Regions from separate parts of the Homo sapiens genome. Here all the other regions are linked to region 3. Evidence: promoter capture Hi-C in 16 types of primary human blood cells and fetal thymus (Javierre and others, 2016). All regions are on one chromosome and are shown on one strand. The core of a region is centred on a gene start or on the middle of the fragment in contact, and the rest is flanking DNA. Distances in the headings are between cores, read along the strand shown.

What was found. The method cuts DNA at HindIII sites, captures the fragments that hold promoters and counts their contacts. A CHiCAGO score of 5 or more calls a contact.
Region 1: a contact is called between a fragment that was not itself captured here and the fragment with the promoter of SLC9C1 in region 3, in 1 of 17 cell types (erythroblasts). The highest score is 5.8, in erythroblasts.
Region 2: a fragment that was not itself captured here is called in contact with the fragment with the promoter of SLC9C1 in region 3 in 1 of 17 cell types (activated CD4 T cells); the score reaches 5.0 in activated CD4 T cells.

What each region holds. Positions count from the first base shown.
Region 1 is chr3:112,554,308-112,557,233 of GRCh38, forward strand. The region is part of intron 2 of ATG3 (autophagy related 3); the gene reads right to left. Among named protein-coding and RNA genes, the nearest start is that of ATG3, 6.2 kb to the right of the region's middle. The HindIII fragment of the contact is 3,918 bases long and covers 1-2,926 here.
Region 2 is chr3:112,583,603-112,586,529 of GRCh38, forward strand. It overlaps SLC35A5 (solute carrier family 35 member A5), which reads left to right. Exons shown (of 7, transcript NM_017945.5): 7 at 1-1,977. Among named protein-coding and RNA genes, the nearest start is that of SLC35A5, 23 kb to the left of the region's middle. The HindIII fragment of the contact is 3,705 bases long and covers 1-2,927 here.
Region 3 is chr3:112,292,846-112,295,680 of GRCh38, forward strand. SLC9C1 (solute carrier family 9 member C1) reads right to left here and starts at 1,371. Exons shown (of 29, transcript NM_183061.3): 1 at 1,248-1,371. The HindIII fragment of the contact is 3,564 bases long and covers 1-2,234 here.

The DNA of each region.
Region 1 (2,926 bases), core at 318-2,817, 260 kb after region 3:
TTAATTGATGACACTCCACCATTGTGATTTGTTTCTGCCCCACCCTAACTGATCAAGGTACTTTGTAATCTCCCCCATCCTTAAGAAGGTTCTTTGTAATTCTCCCCATCCTTGAGAATGTATTTTGTGCCATCCACCCCCTGCCCACAAAACATTGCTCCTAACTCCACTGCCTATCCCAAAATCTATAAGAACTAATGATAATCTCACCATCCTTTGCTCTTTTCGGACTCAGCCCGCCTGCACCCAGGTGAAATAAACAGCCTTGTTGCTCACACAAAGCCTGTTTGGTGGTCTCTACACATGGACGCATGTGACACCCACATACTTGCCAAATTACTTCTATTTTGCAACAGCTCTAGCTTAAAATCTTGTATTGTTCATGGGTTTACTACACAGCAAAAAATTACAAAATATTTAATCTCTAATACCTTTGAGAAAGTATGCCTATATAAAATACTCTAGTTTAATTTGAGCATATAATTCTATCAAATAAGAATTCTAAGAATAACCTCTTTTAAGATGAAACATTAACAAGATATAGCAACTGGATTCCTGATAGAAACTTTATGTTTCTGTTCTTTTACTTCGAATAACCTTATTATTTAAACAGCCTAAGTAAAGACAAAAACCAAAATAAAAACAATAGTCTCTTCCCCAAATTTTGAGCACTTCGAGCTCATTGCAACCAGATGCTACATTTAGCTCTGTGGTTATCAGGAACTAATTTATTACCATTAAAAGTAATAATTTAACTAAATGAAAGCAAAATAATTAAAAATAAAAAATTCTTTCATTGTATTGCCTTGAGGTAACAAGACTAACATTTTATCTCATAGTCCCTATAGTATCTTCTATTTAAAAACAAGAACACTAGGAGGCAAGAAAAACGAAAAACAAAAAACAAAACAAAAAAAACACAGACTCACACTGATAATACATGTGTACATCTGCCCTCATTAGCAATGGCCATCATAACTTGCTTCACGTGTTCAAATGATGCAAGATTCAAATTTCTAAATGATCAATATTGCTTGCAATAGCTTTCTCTTAGAGACTAAAAATGTTCTCTTATTATCTTTATTATCAGTATATAATACTGACCAACTCCAACAAGAATCAATATTTACACCTTGGTGAGCAATTCCATTCCTCAAGCTAACCTCAATTAATAGTATTCTACTTAAACAAGTCATACATACATCCAACATTAGTTTTTTCTTTGTTTTTTGACAATACAGTATCAGATACTAGCTGCCCCTCTTTTTAAGCACAATACTGCCACACCTCTGAATGAAAACAAAAAGATAGCTGATGTCTGGCAGAAACTCAGAAACAGCAAGATGAAACAAATGAACAAATCAACTCAGTATATAATATTTACACAAAGCAAATGATGCCTTCCCATTTCCTCCTCCAGGCTCATTCTACTCTAACTCAATCCTGTAATTGTGCTCTATCCCAACCCTGCATTATGTAATAGACAGCCAGCTGGGCTAATTTGGCCTTGGATTTTTTTAGAGAGGAAAATTCATAAATTGATTGATGTTGTAATTAAGTGTAACAGTTATTTATTCTAGGATGAATTCCTGTTTTGAAACTGCTTAATTCTATCCAATGACCACAGACTTTGCATCTCTAACTGCAACTATATATTCAACAATTAGTCATCTTCACAGAGGAAATAAAACCAAAGAGTGCAATAAGAACAGCATACTTTCATCTCCGCTCTTGATTTCAGATAAAGAGCCATGTTCAAATTACACCTCTGTTTGGCAAGAATGTTAATGATATCCTTAAAATCAAAACTTAGTTTTATTTGGCATTTGAGGTAATAAAACCTAAGGCAGAATAGGATCTTTACAGAATGTCTAGCCCACAACCGTTATTTTATAGATGAGGAAACATGAAGCCTCGGCAGGGATAGTTTAACTGATTTCCTCATTAGGAGAAATTACCGTCCCGTCCGGGAGGTGAGGGGCGCCTCTGCCTGGCCGCCCCTACTGGGAAGTGAGGAGCCCCTCTGCCCGGCCGCCCCTACTGGGAAGAGAGGAGCCCCTCTGCCCGGCCAGCCGCCCCATCCGGGAGGGAGGTGGGGGGGTCAGCCCCCCGCCCGGCCAGCCGCCCCGTCCGGGAGGTGAGGGGCACCTCTGCCCGGCCGCCCCTACTGGGAAGTGAGGAGCCCCTCTGCCCGGCCACCACCCCGTCTGGGAGGTGTACTCAACAGCTCATTGAGAACGGGCCATGATGACAATGGCGGTTTTGTGGAATAGAAAGGGGGGAAAGGTGGGGAAAAGATTGAGAAATCGGATGGTTGCCATGTCTGTGTAGAAAGAGGTAGACATTGTAGACTTTTCATTTTGTTCTGTACTAAGAAAAATTCTTCTGCCTTGGGATCCTGTTGATCTGTGACCTTACCCCCAACCCTGTGCTCTCTGAAACATGTGCTGTGTCCACTCAGGGTTGAATGGATTAAGGGTGGTGCAAGATGTGCTTTGTTAAACAGATGCTTGAAGGCAGCATGCTCGTTAAGAGTCATCACCACTCCCTAACCTCAAGTACCCAGGGACACAAACACTGCGGAAGGCCACAGGGTCCTCTGCCTAGGAAAACCAGAGACCTTTGTTCACTTATCTGCTGACCTTCCCTCCACTATTGTCCTGTGACCCTGCCAAATCCCCCTCTGCGAGAAACACCCAAGAATGATCAATTAAAAAAAAAAAAGAAATTACAGAAATAGGTCTAGAAGGCAGGTCTCCTAGGTTATTTCCATACTACCATGTGTCTTCACCAAAAACAAAAGACAATTTTAGAGAAAAGATTAGTTATGCAAACCATTTTTTTTTTTCAGACGGAGTCTCGTTCTGTCGCCCAGGCTGGACTACAGGCGCCCACCATCACGCCCCGCTAATTTTTTATATTTTTA
Region 2 (2,927 bases), core at 21-2,520, 290 kb after region 3:
AAATGCTGGCTTCAGAATCATACCAGATTGTCAGTGAAGCTGATGCCTAGGAACTTTTAAAGGGATCCTTTCAAAAGGATCACTTAGCAAACACATGTTGACTTTTAACTGATGTATGAATATTAATACTCTAAAAATAGAAAGACCAGTAATATATAAGTCACTTTACAGTGCTACTTCACACTTAAAAGTGCATGGTATTTTTCATGGTATTTTGCATGCAGCCAGTTAACTCTCGTAGATAGAGAAGTCAGGTGATAGATGATATTAAAAATTAGCAAACAAAAGTGACTTGCTCAGGGTCATGCAGCTGGGTGATGATAGAAGAGTGGGCTTTAACTGGCAGGCCTGTATGTTTACAGACTACCATACTGTAAATATGAGCTTTATGGTGTCATTCTCAGAAACTTACACATTTCTGCTCTCCTTTCTCCTAAGTTTCATGCAGATGAATATAAGGTAATATACTATTATATAATTCATTTGTGATATCCACAATAATATGACTGGCAAGAATTGGTGGAAATTTGTAATTAAAATAATTATTAAACCTATGTCTTGTGTTGCCACTCTGTCATTTAGGGTGGGATGTAGAGTACTTTTAATCTTAAAAAATAGAGTGAGACAAAAACCTACACAACTTTTAAAACTTTCTCTTTAAGTAGATCTTTACTTCTAACAATAACAAAGGCATTTTCATCAGTTATGTGAAATACGAAGATTATATCTATTATGGCGATTTATTTTAAAGGTAAGGGAAATGAGGTACAGCAGGACCTTTCTAGGAAATGTGGCATACAAAACATTTTTATCTCATAAAACATAAAAATTACAAAAATATTCTTACAAAGGTATCACATACAGAATACATTAAATAGCAGATTTCAGTAGTGCATGGAGATTGATTTTCTTATTTACGATTACTTTTTTTCCTCACCTTCCTCTTTGGAAAGCATTTTTTGCACAAAGTTAAGTTTACTTATGTTAACTTGCCACTTAATGAGAGAGGAAGAGAAAGAGTGAGAGCACAAGATCATGTGCTGGAACTAAAAATGTTCTATTCAACCCAGCAATCCCTCTACTGGGTACCTACCCAAAGGAAAATAAATCGTTTTATCAAAAAGACACTTGCAGTGGTATGTTTATCACAGCAGTATTCACAGTAACAAAATCATGGACTCAACCTAAGTGTCCATCAGTGGTGCCTGGAATAAGAAAATGTGGTACATATACACCATGGAATACTTTGCAGCCATAAAAAATAATGAAACCATGTGCTTTAAAGCCACATGGATGCAGCTGGAAGCCATTATCCTAACTGAAATAATTCAGAAACAGAAAATCAAATACCACATGTTCTCACTTATAAGTGGGAGCTAAACAGTGGGTACATGTGGACACAGGATTCCAAAGTGAGAAGGGTGGTGTATTAGTCCATTCTCATGCTGCTACAAAGAAATACCCGAGACTGGGTAATCTATAAAGAAAAGGGGTTTAAATGACTCGCAGTTCTGCATGGCTGGGGAGGAGGCCTCAGGAAACTCACAAGCATGGCTGAAGGCGAAACAGAAGCAAGCACCTTCTTCACAAGGCAGCAGGAGAGAGAGTGCCAACAGGGGAAATGGCAGATGCTTATAAAACCATCAGATCTCATGAGAACTTACTATCATGAGAACAGCATGGGGGAAACTGCCCCCATGATTCAATTACCCCCACCTGGTTCCTTCCTCAACACCTGGGGATTATGGGGATTACAATTCAAGATGAGATTTGGGCGGGGACAGAAAGCCTAATCATATCAGATGGGAAGGACATGAGGGTTGACAAAATATGTATTGGGTACAATGTTCACTGTTTGAGTGATGGGTCCACTAGAAGCCCAAACTTCACCATTATGCAATGTACCATATATACGCAATGTAACAAACCTGTACATGTACCCCTTCAATCTGAAATAAAAGTTGTTTTTTTTTTTAAGATGCGAAGTTCTGATATGTATCCACTGGAGGTCTTATGGGCACCACTGGTTTAAGAAGGTCAGAAGTCTGGAAACCATATCCTACATGCCCCTGAAATGAGGATAGTATAACCTGGAGAGGAGCAATTGTCATGTGAAAAAGGAAGTAGACATTTTTCTGCTCTGGAGAATCAAACTACAGTAAGATTTATATGGTAGTGATTATTATTTTATTATAATGAGGACTTTGCCAAAATAGGTTACTTTTCAACAGTTAAAAGAACCTTCCTGAAGAGTAATAGAGAATAGTAGTAAATTATCACTGAAGTTTTTAGGAAGAGATTGTGTCATCAGGATGTTTTAGAAGAGATTCCTTCATGAGTGTAGAAGTTGGACTGATTTCTAAAGTCCCTTTCTATTTTTAGATTCTCTTCTGCACAGTTATGACCTACACATAATGCACTGAATCTGTTCCCTTGATAGTTTCTGCATAGGCTTTGGTTGTGCCACAAGTGTGGCCTGCAGTGAATGACCTGGTCTAACTCTGTCATTGGTCCTAGGACTGAACTGTCCAGGAATATGCCTAATCCTGAGGGAAAGCATCAATATGGCTGTTGGTTATAGAGAGAAAGATGGCTTAGACTCAAGATCTCAAATCCTTGTCCAGCTGCATCTTGCTGCCGTGGGTTTTCAAGATCCACATACAGAGGGGATAACTTGACAAATTACTCTATAACTCTAAGGCTTTTTTTGCTTCTGAAGTCCCATGTGGAAGCCTTGTCACTTGTAAGCTGGACTAGACTGGGTAGATCTGCAGAGAATCTTTTTGCTTTTCTTTATAGACCCAATAGGCTCGATTAAATAGGCCATATCCTCCTTGGCTCCTTTTTCCTTTACCTATATTCTGATTTTTCCCATGAACATCTACCTTTCCTGTGGGGAGAAGAGGCAGAGGAAGTCAAGCTCAATG
Region 3 (2,835 bases), core at 121-2,620:
GGTTTTCAATATAATTAGAACTCTTCATCTTAAGCTGACTTTTGACAGCTTTGTAAAAGTCTGTGAGTCCAAATCCCATTAAAGAAAAAAATATTGGTTTATCACATAGGTCCTCTGCATTAATTTAACAATAAGTTAGTTGACTGAGCACAGTGGCTCACGCCTGTAATCCCAGCACTTTGGGAGGCCTAGGCGGGTGGATCACTTGAGATCAGGAGTTCGAGACTAGCCTGGCCAAAATAGTGAAACTGTCTCTACTAAAAATACAAAAAAAAAAAAAAAAAAATTAGCCAGGTGTGGTGGCACATGCCTGTAATCCCAACTACTTGGGAGGCTGAGACAGGAGAATCAATTGAAGAGGCAGAGATTGCAGTGAGCCTAGATTGTGCCACTGCACTCCAGCTTGGGTGACAGAGTGAGACTCTATTTCAAATATATATATATATATATATCTCTCATGTTAGCTAATATCTCAATTCTCTTTGTGTGTGGAGGAAATTAATGACTGCCCTCTCAAAAATGACATGAATTTGTCCTTGTCAGTCAGCCAGCATTGAGAAATTTTGTCTCATGAACCGTAAGTCACACTAATTTACCATGTTACTGAACATGGAAACAGTCTTCTTCCTTCAGATTGGAACGTTTTGCAAGAATTAGGTGAAGAAAGCATCCTGAAGAGGGCACTGTGGGATCTCAGTAATCTTCACAGCTACAAAGCTCATGCTTAATGGTTTATTTTATATTGATACCAGAGGCTGGATTGTCTCCTTAGTAAACTCTCCTACCACACAACGCAGACATCTTACTGACTCTGAAGGTGGGTGGGCTATTGCCCTCCTAATGCCCCTCCACTCAGAATGAGCCCTTCCTCCAGCTCAAGATCAGCTCCACACACCTGAGGCGATTCCCTGAACCAGTGAGCTTTCCCCTAGGGCTGGACTTTTCAGTTTCAGTAACGCAAAGGGAACACATGCCACTGGATAGTTCACAAAGAGTTGATGTAAAAAGCATAATGGAGGAGGGGAAGCAGCTAAGGGGTAGAAGTTCAAACCGAGAAGCTAGCTGATCTTTGGGAAAGTGTTCCATGGTCTGCCACAAGAAAGGCAGAAGCGCCAAGAGGGAGTGGCTGAATCTCTAGCAGGAAAACAGTGGGAGCCTTTGTTCATCTAGGAGGCGAGACTGAGAGAGAAAGTACCAGTAGGAAAGGTCAACTTCCAGAAAAGGAAACTAGAGACTGGAGAGCTCACCATCCGGAGCCTCAGGAGGAGTATCCCGTGGTGTGCAAGTGAGAAGTGGGGGGCAGCTATTTCGCTCACAGCCAAACAGCCCAGACCAACTGCAACCTCACTGACAGTTACTTGCTCCAAACTCGCCCCTAGTCTGCACCGGTTAGCTTCAGGCCCATCATCTCTTACTTGATTGGCTGATGAAATGCAACGTCATTGCTCCTGTATATCTCAGGCATTTGACGGCTTAAGGCTTTGTTTTATTTTTTAAAAATAAACAAATAAGGGGTGAAAATGAACCTACAGAAATTGCGCCATTGTGTTAATTTAAGACTTTGGGACAGTGGATTTCTGACAAAGAGCTGTTGGACACTGCTTTCCCAGAATTCTAGTAAAAGGAAGTTTCCTGGATAAGATAGTGTGGTAGAGATATGAGGACGCAGGTTGCTGGGTTAGGGAAAAAGTGAATGGATATTGTGGGCATGTAAGAGAATGAAATCAAGATGACAAGGTGAACTTTCACTCTGGGTTATATGTGAGGAAATTTTCAGGAATAATGATATACTCATTTGTTTTTTCTAAACATAATATGTAAAAAATATTTTAATTGAAATTACTTAGTTATTACTATAGAGCCAACTTTTCACATTCCTACTCTCATAAAATATCTTAAAGTTATTTAAAATTGTATTTAATGTTTTGTTCTCTGTGTTTCATCTCTTTCTCCCGACCCACACGTTTATAAGTGAATGGTGGTAAAATTCCCAACTCTTCATTTGGCCTCCTCTGATACTACCCTGATGAAGAAGGCAGGAGGCAACTTGTTTGGCTGGGTTGGAGCAGAAGTCCAGGCTCCCTACATGGTCTCCAACTGAGGCATGGGGTGCATCTTTATGGCCTGGTTGTTATGGAAGTTCCAGCTCCCACAAGGCCTTTTCTGATACTGCTCTGGTTGGGGTGGGGAAACAGGCAGGGTTCTGGCATCTTGTATGGTATGGGTGAAGTTTAAGCTTCCTACTCAGTCTTTGCTGGTATGTGGGTACAGGGAGTGGGTGAACACTTTTCTGTGGTGTTTGGTTAAAGTAGAGCAGTTACTGGTGAAATTTTCTGTCTTGCTGGGCTGCCCCTTTTCTTGGGTCTTTAAAAAATCTATTCTCGGCCAGGTGCAGTGGCTCATGCCTGTAATCCCAGCACTTTGGGAGGCCGAGGCAGGTGGATCACCTGAGGTCAGGAGTTCGAGACCAGCCTGACCAACAAGGTGAAACCCCGTCTCTACTAAAAATACAAAAATTAGCCGGGCATGGTGGCAGGCGCCTATAGTCCTAGCTCCGGGAGGCTAAGAAAGGAGAATCACTTGAACCCGGGAGATGGAGGTTGCAGTGAGCCGAGATTGCGCCACTGCACTCCAGCCTGGGAGACAGGGTGAGACACCGTTTCAAAAAAAAAAAAAAAGGATTCTCATTGTTGGAAATACATGCCACATATCTGTGTGTGGGTTGTGGTTCATGTGTGGATATATATTTAAAAATTAATTAAGTTGCAAAGCTAATATTTGCCACATTATGTATTTGTTTATATACATATGTCTTGCTAAGTTTATATATATATA